Regions from separate parts of the Homo sapiens genome. Here all the other regions are linked to region 1. Evidence: promoter capture Hi-C in human tissues and cell types (Jung and others, 2019). All regions are on one chromosome and are shown on one strand. Each heading gives the region's core, a stretch centred on a gene start or on the middle of the fragment in contact. The rest is flanking DNA. Distances are from core to core; before and after follow the strand shown. Region 1 holds the start of S1PR3 (sphingosine-1-phosphate receptor 3). Region 2 has its middle 15 kb from the start of MIR4289. Region 3 holds the start of SHC3 (SHC adaptor protein 3). Region 4 overlaps SHC3 (SHC adaptor protein 3).

What was found. Contacts are between HindIII fragments. The study calls those that stand out against the background at their distance.
Region 2: a contact is called between a fragment that was not itself captured here and the fragment with the promoter of S1PR3 in region 1, in 6 of the 25 tissues and cell types used here (IMR-90 fibroblasts, bladder, heart left ventricle and 3 more).
Region 3: the fragment with the promoter of SHC3 here is called in contact with the fragment with the promoter of S1PR3 in region 1 in 1 of the 25 tissues and cell types used here (IMR-90 fibroblasts).
Region 4: a fragment that was not itself captured here is called in contact with the fragment with the promoter of S1PR3 in region 1 in 4 of the 25 tissues and cell types used here (heart left ventricle, heart right ventricle, mesenchymal stem cells and 1 more).

The regions. Positions count from the first base shown.
Region 1 is chr9:88,989,782-88,993,192 of GRCh38, reverse strand. S1PR3 (sphingosine-1-phosphate receptor 3) reads right to left here and starts at 1,725. Exons shown (of 2, transcript NM_005226.4): 1 at 1,498-1,725. RefSeq lists a silencer at 1,885-2,179. The HindIII fragment of the contact is 13,055 bases long and covers 1-3,411 here.
Region 2 is chr9:88,759,200-88,762,610 of GRCh38, reverse strand. No RefSeq gene overlaps it. Among named protein-coding and RNA genes, the nearest start is that of MIR4289, 15 kb to the right of the region's middle. The HindIII fragment of the contact is 3,626 bases long and covers 1-3,403 here.
Region 3 is chr9:89,177,132-89,180,542 of GRCh38, reverse strand. SHC3 (SHC adaptor protein 3) reads left to right here and starts at 1,725. Exons shown (of 12, transcript NM_016848.6): 1 at 1,725-2,556. The coding sequence starts at 2,083. The HindIII fragment of the contact is 9,677 bases long and covers 1-3,411 here.
Region 4 is chr9:89,137,794-89,141,204 of GRCh38, reverse strand. The region is part of intron 1 of SHC3 (SHC adaptor protein 3); the gene reads left to right. Among named protein-coding and RNA genes, the nearest start is that of SHC3, 39 kb to the left of the region's middle. The HindIII fragment of the contact is 4,407 bases long and covers 1-3,411 here.

The DNA of each region.
Region 1 (3,411 bases), core at 476-2,975:
AGATCCTTCGGCCACTATGTGAAGTTTCTTCTATAGGAAACTGTAGTCTCTACCCTTTGTATATGGTAGAAAATCAGAGACTCATGCATTTGAATAAAAATCACAATGATAAAGGGAGAAATGGCACTTTCAAAGATGAAAACTGGTTGAGAAATCATTCTCTCTAAATCTTAGGGGGAGGCTCTTAAGGGCTAGCTTCAGTTTGTATCTCTGGTGTTAGGTGATGGAAGTGATTTCAGAGGCCCAAAGTGAGTGCTTACTGGTTTGCTAATGAAAAAAGCCTGACGTGCGGTTCTTCTTCTATGGCAACAAAGTTATTCAACCTAGCATTAAGGTCTGCATCCATGAAATAATACTTTACAGATATGAACACTTCCACAACTCCTCAAGCGCACACACACACACACACACACATGCCCCGCACCATCACCACCTCCTCAACCAACACCAGCCCTGGGCATGGCCAGCTATCCTTGTTAGTCATGTATCTGCAGAGCATAATCCTTCCCTTGTACTTTCTAGGAATTATATTTTTCTTAACTATGCCTGCAAGATTTTCATCTATGAATAAAAAACATTGAAAAGATAAATTATGAATATGTGGTTATATACAAAGTCTGTGACTTCTAATGTCCAGATTTTAGAATGATGCCTAATTCTGGAGGTCTCAGAGGTCCAAGTGGGAGTGGGTACCATGAATGGGGGGGCCTCCATTTAAAAGTAACCTTCTAAAGAGCTCTCTGTTCCTGTAGCTCCCCTTTCCTTATTGGAAGGGTCAAAACGAAGTGTGTTCCCTTAAAAATCCAACAAGAAGTTCCTCTCTTATATCCAAATATAAAAACACCACAAAGAAATATACCATTGGGAGTGTCCAAAGCCAGAAAGTCAGAGGAAGAGAGAGAGAGAGAGAGAGAGAGAGACTGACTATTGGGAGACTCAAAAAGCCCAAAGCCCCTTCTCTAGCTGTTATCTCAGTTACGAACACAACGTACTGATTTTCCGTGGGAACCTCATTATTGCACTGTGGGGACTTCGTCTTCCAGCACCGATTCTGACGGCCCTAATTGCCTTGTTTGAGAAATGTTAGGAAAAAACTAATTTTCCGGCGAATATTGTTTAAAAGAATGATTTTCCCAGGCTAACGACCACAACCCTCTCCCACGTCCAGCATCCCCAGGCCCTGGCACTGTGGAAGCCTAACTTGTTAATTGTCCAAGGAAAACGACTGATGGAACTTCTCCACGAACAGCCTCTCCACTTTCATCCAGGTATTCAGCTCCAGCCCGTTGTAAACGCTCCGGGTGCGGTGGAAAAGGCCTCCTCCCTGTTCCTGCAGCGGCTCTGGGGGAGGGGTGCTGATGTGGAGCGCTCCGGCCGCCGTGGCGCGCCCAAGTCCCCGTCGCGCCCGGGATCGGTGGGGATTTTGTTGGAAAGGTGGGTCCTTCGGCCCCCAGCCCCCCACCCTGGTTCCGCGCCCCGCCCGGGCCCGCCTCTCACCTCCGTCGGCTGAGGGCGCTGGGGCCACCGGCATCCTAGCGGGTGGCGCGCGGCGGTGCCGGGGCGCCCGGTCCTGCGCTCGAATGCCAGATGGGCTGGGAGGCCCGGCAGTCTCAGCGCTCGCGACGTCGTTCCCGGGCCTGGGGTCCTGCTCGGTCGCGTCCTGCAGCCGCCTTCTGGTCCCTGAGTCCCTGTTGCCCGTCCCCGGAACCGGCTTCCTCGGCCTCTGCCCGAGCGAGTCAGAGACTAAACTTTTCCAGCGGCCCGCCGGGGCGGGACCCGCGCTCCGCCCCTCCCCTCGCCGCCCCCGACTCCCGCCCCTCTCCCCGCCCCCCTCTCCCCGTCCCCCGCCCGCGAACCCGGCACTCCTCCAGCTCCCCACCTCCCGCTCAAGCCGCCTGGTCTCCGTGCGCCCCGCCCGCCCCTAGCCTGGACCCCTTCTCCCCGACCCTACCAATCCCCTAGGGTCCGGCTCGCCCTTCGGCCCCTGTTCCCAGGCCGGCCTCCAGACCTTGTCCTCATCGGGCGAGCTCCAGGTGCAGAAACCGGGCGCCCAGAGACCCAGCGGGAACAGGCTTGGAACCAGGTCCGAGGTCTGGGCTTGGGCGGGCGCCTGTCGCCCTGACAGCGAGGGTTTGTTTGGGCCGATTCTTAATAGGAGGATTAATACTATCATTATCGTTGTCCAGATCCTGACCATTTCTTTTGTAACTGGCCGAGCACCGGCTTGGGCTTGCAGGTGGGCGCCTGGCGCCGGACAGCGTTTTTGTTTGGGCTTCTTCCTTTTCCGCGCGGGTCCCCTCCGGCGCCTGCCTGGTCCCTCTCCGCGCTCTACCCCCAGGCACGCAGAGACTTGGGCTCCAGGCGGGGGCAGCACTCTCCCCCAGCCTCTGCTGGTGCACCAGAGCCCACTCCGGCACAGAGCAGCGCCCCTCCTAGACCGGCAGCCAGCAGATCTCAGCCGACCCCCATGCGACCCCCTTCCTCACGCGGATTTGCCCCTTTTGTGTGGCAAAAATAATAATAATAATAATAAATCCATATGAAGGCTTCAAACAGAATTCCGAGAGAAGGAACTGCCAAATTTTCAATCAATGCCAAAGGCCATGATTGAGCGAACACAGAAACAACTGTAGAAGCTTGGGGAGAAAGGAGAAAATTAAAGAAAAAGGAGGAGGAGGAAAAGGAGAGAGGAGAGAAGCGGGAGGAAGAAGACGAAAAAGCAAGGAGAGGCCTGTTATCCGACCGTGCATTCCTGGGCCGGCAGGATTGGGCCGCAGGGGCCGCTGCAGAGAGTTGAGTTTGTGCAAAGGCCGCTCGTTACTTTCTGTCTTTTGCCCTCTTGCCTCCAGAGGATCAGCCCAGCGCATCCTTCTCTTGGAGCAGGGTGCATACGCTTATTTGGGGTGCAGTTTGAGCGGTGAAGGGCACCAAGAGTGGAAGTCGGCGGCACTCCTGTTCCCTGCAGAGAAACGCAAGCCCTCAGCAATTGAGCTGAAGGAGGCAAGTGACTCTGCCTGCTGAGGCTGCCAGCCCTAGAGGCTCTGGCCCCCGGGAGCTGGGGTACTTCCCAGCGTTTTCGCCTAAGCCACTTCGCCTGTGCTACTGTGGAGTCTTCCGGCACTGTAGCCTTCCAACTTGTTCAAAGTGCCTGGTGCACGGCTCTGAGAAGCCACTTCTGTCCCAAGTTTCATGTGGGCCTGAATGTGCTTCCCTTTGTTGGACTCCTACAGCATCAAGTCAAGAAAAGAAGGAAACATGCTCCTTTGGCATTGGTCACAACCAGGATAACAATACAGCATACTGTGGCCACTGTGTCTATATTACCAAAGTGGTCAGTAGGTTCATCACACCTCTGTTCAATTAGTTGCTTCCCGTGATGAAAAATTTACTGCTAGGATACTGGCTGAGGGT
Region 2 (3,411 bases), core at 341-2,840, 230 kb after region 1:
CATTGCTATTATATAAAAATGAAATTGATTTTTGCATGTTGATCCTGTAACACACAAAGTTACTGAACTCACAATAATTCCAGGACGTTGTCTTTTTATTTATTTATTTTGTAGATTCCTTTATGTTGTCTACATAGATAATCATGTCACTCACAAGTAGGGATGATTTCATTTCTTCCTTTAGAATTGGTATGCCATTTATTTATTTATTTATTTGTTTGTTTGTTTGTTTATTTATCTATTTATTGCCTTCTTTCACCATCTAAAATTTCCAGTACTATACTGAATAAAAGTAGTGAGAATCGACAGTCTTGCCTTGCTCCCAGTCTTAGGGAAAAAGAAGTTAGTCTTTCACTACAAAGTATGATGTTCCCTATAGGTTCTTTGTTAATAGTCTTTATCCAGTTCAGGTAGTTCCACTCCATCCTAATCTTGCTGAGAGAGAGTTTTATCAAAAAATAGATGCTGAATTTTGTCAAATACCTTTTCTGTATCAACTGATATGATCATATGATTTTTCTTTTTTGCCTTGTTGATATGGTAGATTATATTTACTTTAGAACATTGAACCAGCCTTTTGTACCTGGATTAAATCCCATTTGGTCACAGTATATAATTTCTTTTATATATTGTTGGATTTTATTTGCTAATGTTTTGTTGAGGTAAATTCACAAGAGATATTGTTTTGTAGTTTTCTATTTTAGAAATGTCTTTCTCTGGTTTTGGTAATAGAGTAATATTGACCTAATAAAATAAGTGTTCCCTACTCTTCTGTCTTCTGGAAGAAATTGTATTAAAATGTTGTTAATTCACCTTAAAATATTTAGGAGAAGTATCCCATGAAAGCACCTGGACCAGCCTTTTTCAGGAGGTTTTCAATTAAGAATTCATGTAATCATTATAGGACTCCTCAGATTATCTGTTTCATGTTAGCTGAGTTTAGATTTTCAAGGAATTGGTCCATTTCTCCTAAATATTCATATTTATATGAACATCAAGTTGTTCATAGTATTGTCTTATTATCTTTATAATCCTTTTCATGGTTGTAGGATCTTCAGGGTTATTCCTCCATTTCATTCCTGATATTAGTGAAACCTCTTGCTGGAGATTTATCAATTTTATTATTTGTTTTAAAATAGCTTGTGGTCTTATTAGCTTTTTCTATTGTTTTCCTATTTTCAATTTCATTCATTTCTGCTTTGATCTTTATTGTTTCCTTCCTCTGTTTGCTTTTAGTTTATTTTGCTCTTCTTTTCAGTTTCTTGAGGTAGGAACTTAGATTTATAACATGAGACTTACTTTTTTCTAACGTAAGCATTTAGTGATATAAATTTTCCTCCCACACTGTTTTAGCTACATCTCACATATTTTTATTTGCTGTATTTTCACATGAATATGTCATTCCATTCTACCATTTTTTTAATTTTCTTTGAGACTTTCTCTTTAATTTATGGGTTATTTAGAAGCATATTGTTTAATTTCCACATGTTTACAGATTTTCCTTCATTTATTGTCATTAATTTCTAGCTTGATTCCACTATGCTCAGATAATCATACTCTTTAATTCTTTAAAAAATTTTGATGCTCATTAAAAAGTCAGAAAATAACAGATGCCGGCAAGACTGTGGAAAAATAGCAATGCTTTTACACTGGTGATGGGAGTGTAAATTAGTTCAACCATTGTGGAAGACAGTGTGGCAATTCCTCAAGGATCTAGAATCAGAAACACCATTTGACCCAGCAATCCCATTACTGGGTGTATACCCAAAGGATTATAAATCATTCTACTAAAAAGACACGTGCACACATATGTTTATTGCAGCACTATTTACAATAGCAAAGACTTGGAACCAACTCAAATCCCCATCAATGATAGACTGGATAAAGAAAATGTGGCACATACACATCATGGAATACTATGCACCCATAAAAAAAGAGTGAGTTCATGTCCTTTGCAGGGACATGGATGAAGCTGGAAACCATGATTCTCAGCAAGCTAACACAGGAACAGAAAACCAAACACTGCATGTTCTCACTCATAAGTGGGAGTTGAGCAATGAGAACACATGGACACAGGGAGGGAATGTCACACACCAGGGGTTGTCAGGGGGTGGGAGGCAAGAGGAGGGAGAGCATTAGGACAAATACCTAATGCACACGGGGCTTAAAACCGAGATGACGGGTGGATAGGTGCAGCAAACCACTATGACACATGTATACCTATGTAACAAACCTGCACATTCTGCACATGTATCCTAGAACTTAAAGTAAAATTTAAAATAAAAAAAATAAAAATTTTTTTTGATACTTGTTTTTGGTCAGGATACGGTCTGTGAATGGTCATGAGCACTTAAAAATGTGTATTCAGCTACTGTTGGGTGAAGTATAATCTATGTGCCAATTAGATCTTATTGGTTGATTATGCTTTTCAAATCTTCTGTATCTTTGCTGATCTTCTTCTAGTACTTCTGTTAGTTGATCAGAAGGTTGCATTGAAGTCCCCAACCATAATTGTGAGTTTGTCTATTTCTCGTTTCAGCTCTGTCAGTTTTTTGCTTCATGTACTTTAGTCTCTGTTGTTGTTTGTATACACATTAAGAATTGTTATGTCTTTCTGGTAGATTGACCCTTTCATCTTTATGTAATATCCCTCTGTGTCTTTAGGTATTTTCTTTCTTCTGAAATCTATATTATTGGATACTAATGTAGCCATTTCTGTCTTTTTTAAAATTAATGTTCTCATAGTATACCTTTTTCCCTCTTTTTACTTTCACCCTATCTGTGTAATTGAATGTGAAGTAAGTGTCTCATAAAGAGCACACAGTAGGGCCATGGTTTTTTATCCATTCTGCCAATCTGTGTCTTTTCATTGTAATTATTCCAGACGGCATGGTCTGCTGCAGCTCTCCGCAGTAGAATGTTGAATGTCCCCCAACCCCCAAAAAAGGCCGCTGTGGAGCTTTCAGGAAATGCCAAGTCTACCTTGTGCTGATTAGTGCCATTTATAACCCAGCTCAGAAATGCAACTCAACACTCCCCATCTGCTCTGGATTTGGAACTGCAAGTTTGAAATGTCACGGTATCCACCTCTTTGCCCAGCCCCCTCTCCAATCCCTGTATATTGGCCTCGCTTGGGATTTTCTCTAGCACCACCATCTGGGATTTACTTTTTTCTCTTTATTTTCCCAAGGAATAGAACCTGGGATGTATCAACTCAGTTTCTTCCTGAAACTCAGTTTATACAACCAGGCTGCCTGCTGTTGAATCCTTGAGTGCTGGCTCACACAAGATACTGATGCAGAGCCAGTACTATGAAGAGGCCTCTGGAGACTTACAAGGGCACTAAGGAAAAGGGGGACTCGTTGTTTAATTTACACATTCCCTTTATGACCCCTTTTAAATGCCCCTGAT
Region 3 (3,411 bases), core at 476-2,975, 190 kb before region 1:
GGATAAAAGATCCCGCCTTTGATTGAAATGGAATCTTCCACTATTGAGCAAGCCTTTGTTGAATGAGTCATCGGGGCGGCCGCTCATTGGCTGAGGCCGCTGGAGCCCAGGGGATTGCCTGGCACCGGCTGCAAGGCCCTGCTTCATTCACAGAAACGCTGGCTCGCTCGCTAGCCTTTTCATTCACACAAACAGCATTTCATTCACATTTTGCGGTTTTTGTCTGCATCTAATGAAGATCTCGCTTTGGGAATGATAGGGCTGTTTCGCTACAGATCTGGGGAGGACTCTGATAACCATCAAAATCATCTATGGGGTGTGCAATTGCTGTTGCTATGCAAGCTAGGGAAAGGGAACAAATGAGTGCCGTGTAGCTGTTCTGCTAGGGCTGCGGCACAGGAGGCGAGCCGTGGGGACGCGTTTCCTGTACCGGGGACGCCGCGGCTCCTCTGCGCTCTTGCGTCCTAGGGGTTGGCCTCACCCGCTCGCCCGCCATGAGTGGCGCTCATTAAACTCTGCTCCATAGAGCAGGGTTCAAGACTCAGGACCTCACGTGCCCCACATGTTCGGTCATGGGAGTGAGAGGACTCAGGGTGACCTGAGAGTGTGCTAGAGCTGAATTTATTCGCTTGCTCAGAAGTTGCGGGAAAACTTTGATAGTGAGTGTTTCACTGTGGAGCAGGTGATCCTAATGCATGAGGAAGCCTGGCAGAGCCCACTGAGGTCAAGAGTCAGAGGGCTTCAGTCTCGGGCAGACCTCTGGGGACAGCGAAAGCCTTGCTCTCCTAACTGAGAGGAAGAAGGCCTGTGCATTTTACTTGCAAGCCCGAGCCTGACTCCTGAAAAGAAGGCATATTTTCCTCCTTGTGGATTTGATGTGCAATAAGAACAGCTGCATTTTTTCCTTCCTGACTGCAGGGTTGCAAGCAGCAACTGAAGGAACATTGAAATGTATTTGTAGCATTTCTTAGGCGTTTTTCCAGAGCTTAAACACATTCAGTAGGATTAAAGCTTCAAATGCAGCCCCTTTTTTGGAATGGATTTCTGGAGCCTGTTGCCACTCGTGAAAGAAGCACTCTTCTTTTTTGGAAGTGGATATTCAACTTAACCCTGGCTGAGAAAGACTGCTGTAAATGAGCAGGGAAGACCCCTTGATTGGCACTGTGCAGAAGTTCATATGCAGATTTTTTTTTTTTTTTTTTTTTGAGGAACTGCATTGCCACAAAGACACTTGTCATCGCTGCTCTGTTAATTTGAAAAGAAAAAGCAAAACCCAGGAAATTGGTATTTTACAGTCACCTGGGGGTGAATATCCTTTTTGTTTTTTTCTATTTAAAAATTCCTGCTGCCTTCCAAGTCAAGATTCATCAGGATTCGCTGAAGATCTGATTCTTAAAAAGCCTTCGTCACATTTTAACGCATCGCTGTTAGACACTTTTACAGGCTCACACAGATGGGCTGAGCAGGGACGAGCAAAACCTAACAGAATAATGGGTTTCAGAAAGTTCATTTGACGATTTGAAGGAACTGGATTGGATTTACCTTTGGCACAAATGCAGATTGCGGGGGATGGGAAGGTGAAAAATCAAAGGTTGGAAGGAAATATCTGGGAAGGTAGAAAAAGGAAATTTGAGAATTGATTGGCTATAGTGTGCTGTCAGCGGGTGGATGTCGTTTTTTTCTTCTTTTTTTCCTTTTTTTTCTTCTGCTACAGGAAGTGATTTGCAGTGCTCACCGAGCCTTTGTTGAGAAGGGTCTCCTCTCAGAGTGAGTCATGCTTTTGCTGTGAGCAGCCCCAAGCAGCTGGGCGCTCCATCAGAGGCAACTATGACTTTTGCAAAGCAAACGTGCAACCCCAAGCAGCGGTCTCCCGGGCCGGGGCTGCGCGGCCGCCGCTGTGCTGGCTTTTAACGGTGGGAGGGCACCATCCTCTTGCTCTGCTCTCGTTCTCCAGAAGGCTGTCCCGGGGCCCCCACTCTCCGTCCCGCTCCGGGGACAGTGGCTCGCCTGCTATGCGCGGCAGCCCGCGCCGGGGCCGGCACCAGCAGCGCCCGGGCGGATGCAGCGAGCCCACGGAGGGGCATGCTTCCACGCACCAAGTATAACCGCTTCAGGAATGACTCGGTGACATCGGTCGATGACCTTCTCCACAGCCTGTCGGTGAGCGGCGGCGGAGGCAAGGTTTCGGCGGCGCGCGCGACCCCGGCGGCGGCTCCCTACTTGGTGTCCGGCGAGGCGCTGCGCAAGGCGCCCGACGATGGGCCCGGCAGCCTGGGCCACCTGCTCCACAAGGTGTCCCACCTGAAACTCTCCAGCTCGGGCCTCCGCGGCCTGTCGTCGGCCGCCCGGGAGCGGGCGGGCGCGCGGCTCTCGGGCAGCTGCAGCGCGCCCAGCCTGGCCGCCCCGGACGGCAGTGCGCCCTCGGCGCCCCGCGCCCCGGCCATGAGCGCCGCCAGGAAGGGCCGGCCCGGCGACGAGCCGCTGCCCAGGCCCCCTCGGGGGGCGCCGCACGCCAGCGACCAGGTGCTGGGGCCCGGAGTCACCTACGTGGTCAAGGTGGGTGCGGGCGCGGGCCGCCCTGGGGGCTGGGGGTTCTGGGGCCAGTTCGGGGCAGACTCCTTCATTCCCTGAAGCCCGGGGTGCGGGGCGCTCCCGCGACTGTCACGTTAGAGGCAAGCAAATGCGCACTCCTTAGCAATCAGCTCGCTTGACAGCGGTGAGGAGGGAACTACAAATGCGCTTTTCCCGCATCCATTGGGAAAAGGTTTACCACTCGGGTGGCCCGCTCCGTCCCGGTTTTCCCTAGGCTCCACTTTTTTGGCACGCCTTTGCCACCTGGCTTACCAGATGTCTGACCAGTGTCATGGGCGCCCAACCCTGGGCAGCGGGGGTCCGGCCTGCCTAGTATCTAGGAAACGCGCTGGGGAGAGCTGGGCAGCCCCCGGGAGGAGAGATGCACGGAGTGGCGGCCCTACTCCTGCTGTGTCTTCCCCGGCGGGAGGGTGGGTATCTTGTTGCCCCCCGCAGCAAGAATTCCCAGCTCCTTGCAGAGCAGGCCAAATGCTGTGCTGCTTTCTCTTCGACGGGCTTTACTTTCTCACCCAGTCCAGGTTTTCTTGGGGTTTGTCTTTCATTCCCTAAGGAAAGGTTCTGGTTTACAGCAGCGGAATGAGAATTCTGGGACTATTTTTCTGGTGACTGTAGTCTTCCATTTAAATGTGCTAAAAGGGAACTAGGGCGCTGCGCTTGGAGCCACAGGCTGGAAAGGAGTTTTTTCCTCCAACACAAAGATGATAAAATCACGATGTAGTCAATAAAATTCCACCCTTATGCAAGCATGTTATGATATTTAAGGAAAAATGCTCAGCACAGTTCAAGTAATCTGCCACGCGGTTATTTCCTTCTGCCGGT
Region 4 (3,411 bases), core at 283-2,782, 150 kb before region 1:
CTCTGCCATTACAATGGCATCCCAACTTCAGGGTCAATTCCCTGCTTAGGGAATGAGTTCTTTCTTGTTTGATATCTGCATGACCATTACCATTTGTTATTCTCTTCTCCTCCAAAAACTGTCCTGTATTTTCCTTTCACTGAGCCAGAAATATTGGCTGTTTGGCCTGGCTAAAGTCTGGTAATAAGAAATTTACCATGACTTTTTAAAAGAGCGCTATGGTTAAAAATCAGCTTAATTAATTTAAAATATGGATATCTAAACTATATATATTTAAAAGGGCTTTATCTTTTTCCCCTTCTTGAATCTTGTTCTTTCTGAAAAAAGTTTTTCTCCTCAGTCGACTGAACTGTTTTTCTTCATTTTGTCTTTTTGCCACTGTTAATGCCGACATAAGAGAACCTGAGATAATTACTAACAGCCTAGAACTCCTGGAGAAAAACAGAGGAAGTGCCACGGACCCTGTTTTGGGAAAATTCTCTTTTTTTTCCTCATGAAACCCCAGGAATTAAAAGCAGTTAGTTTCCTCTCAAAATCTAAGGCTTTGTTCTGTTTTGCATTGCCGTATCTGATGTTTTTGACTTTTGCAGGTATCAGAAATTGTTTTGCATTATGAGAGAATTTGGTGTGTAATAACTAGGTAGGAAATATACTTTTGGAGATGGCTAATGGCAGTTATTGGGAAATACTCAGCTGTGCATGCTTGGATAAGAAACACATGCTCTTGGCCACCTAGGAAGTATGGAGATGCGCCCCCCCACCCACCACCACCGCCACTGAGAGATAAGACTTCCATGGGGAGGGGCTGATTCCTTCTTTTTGGGATCCAAGATCTGGTATAAAAGCAGGACCCTTAATCTGGGGGGGGGAATCTGTTTGCCTTCCAGCTGTCCCTGCTTATTAGCCCTAGAAAATGCATGCTTTCCTGGCTCTGGGCTCCACCCTGAAGCCAGTAATCCAATTAAGAAACTGGTAAATGAAAAATCTTACAACTACTGGGTCTTCTTCTGTCATGTATTTATGTGTGTTGTGTGTTTGTGATATAAAAAAGAAGCTTTCATTGGTTTAAAAACAATGACTGCTTAAATCAAGCATTTTGTCAGAAAAGTAAAAAGTCTAATGGCTTTTAGTTCATGTGACTTTAGTACTCTTCAAGAAATGACAGTTTTAAAAATTATTGGTAAAATTAAAATGTCTTCAAAATTTAAACATTTGGTCTAAATTACTCAGGTCAGATATTAGGCTTGCTAAATGCTTTAAGGTAATAAACTGTTTCTTTAAGTTTTGAAAATTGTTCAATTTACCTACTTTAGAGCATTAGATTCTAAATAAGGCCTAGGGACATATGGAGAGCCATGCTCCCTAGCTAGGCTCAAGAGTCAGCCTTTATCAGCCCTTTTGCAATAGGACAGAATTGGAGAAACTGGTAATTTTACCAACGCTTTGACTGTAATGGTGTTCTTTCCTTTAAGGAATCAAACTTGATTTGTAAAGCTAATAAAAGCCCCTTGAAGAAACTGGCCTCATGCCTAGTCTACAGCAGTCTCTGTACAGAATTCCTGACCTGTGTGATAAGTAAAGAATGGCACTTATCTTAGGCCCAGGAGCCCCAAGTTATCTTGGGATTTCAAAAGGAAAGGAATTGACACAACTCATAGGTATTTGAGGGTACAAACCTATGGCAGGGCTCAGCTTTATAAAAGTCTTATCTGAGATTCCTTCTATGGAACAGAGTTTCACAAAAGCCAATTTAAAAACAGCTTATGTGAAAAATAATTATTCTTACTGCACTTTATACAAATAATCAGGCCAAGTGTAATAAAGCAAAACAGTCTTACCATGATTTGTCCTTAGTAACAATGGTAAACTGGATAGAGAAAGATTATGTTTCAAGAACTATGGTACACTTGTTATTAGATTCTAGTCTCATTGGTTGTTTTTGAGTTTTTTCTTCAACTTAGGCTGATCTGGCTCATTCCTGTGAACCAACCAGCAATCTCTGACTGCTGCTCAGAAGAAATAAGAGGGATGGGTAATGTAAAAAACATCTGGATAAAATCAATATTCTAATTCTGGGTGCATTAGAATCAGCTAACAATCCCATATCAGCCTGGTTCCAACAGTTTCCCAATTCATGGAAAGACTTCTAGTTTAGTTTACTTGAAATAATTGTACTTATTTTGCTTTACTGCTGTGGAATGTATTACTGTTGTACTCTTCGTGTAGGAATGCAGGATAAGCTTACTCAATGTTTTCTTAAATTGAATACTTATTAATCTTCCAGATACCACCTTTTCTCAGAACTCAAGAGTCATGAATCACCCTTACTATACTGATGCCTCCTGACAGAGCTCCTTTCTATGCCTAATATAAGAGACCCTAATAGGCAGGAATATCATCACCTCTAATCATCCTGAAGAAGTTACAGAAGATGGATCTTTATCCCTCCGCAACCCTTAGGATTAAGGGTTCTCTTAGAAAAGGGAGAGGGGAAATGTCAGAGACATTTGAACCAGAGCAACTCCATCTTGAATAGGGGCTGGATAAAATGAGGCTGAAACCTGCTAGGCTGGATTCCCAGACGGTTAGGCATTCTAAGTCACAGGATGAGACAGGAGTTTGGCACAAGACACAGGTCATAAAGACCTTGCTGATAAAACAGATTGCAGTCAAGAAGCTGGTTAAATCCCACCAAAACCAAGATGGCAATGAGAGTGACCTCTGGTTGTCCTCACTATTACACTCCCACCAGCTCCATGACAGTTCACGAATGCCATGGCAATGTCAGGAAGTTACCCTATATGGTCTTAAAAGGGGAGGCATGAATAAACCACCCCTTATTTAGCATATAATTGAGAAATAGCTATAAAAATGGGCAACCAGCAGCCCTTGGGCCTGGTCTGCCTATGGAGTAGCCATTCTCTTATTCCTTTACTTTCTTAATAAATTTGCTTTCACGTAGTTCTATGGACTTGCCTCAAATTCTTTCTTGTGCAGATTCAAGAACCCTCTCTTAGGGTCTGGATTGGGAGCTCTCTCCACCAGTAGGACAGATCTGCTGTCACCCTTGCCCTCAGATGCATGTTCTTTGTCCCCCAAGTCTCTGTAGCTGGCAGCTCACGGCTTCCCAGGGCAAGGCGAGAAGCATCAGAGTCTACAAAGGGTGACATCTATGACTAATCTTTCCCAACTCTGGTTTGGCTTCCTGCCCTTTCAGTGCGTTTGCAGCCTGCACAGACTCATAGTTGCAGAGGAAAGTCTTTGTGAAGACTCTGTTACAAAATAATGGCTTTGTCTTTGTACTATGGGCTGTTATCGTTCTTTTCTTATGGATTGAAGGAGCAACGTGTTTCATTTATTTTCCTCTTGCTCCTGATGAATTGAGTTTGCTTTTGGGGTCTTTGTAAGTTG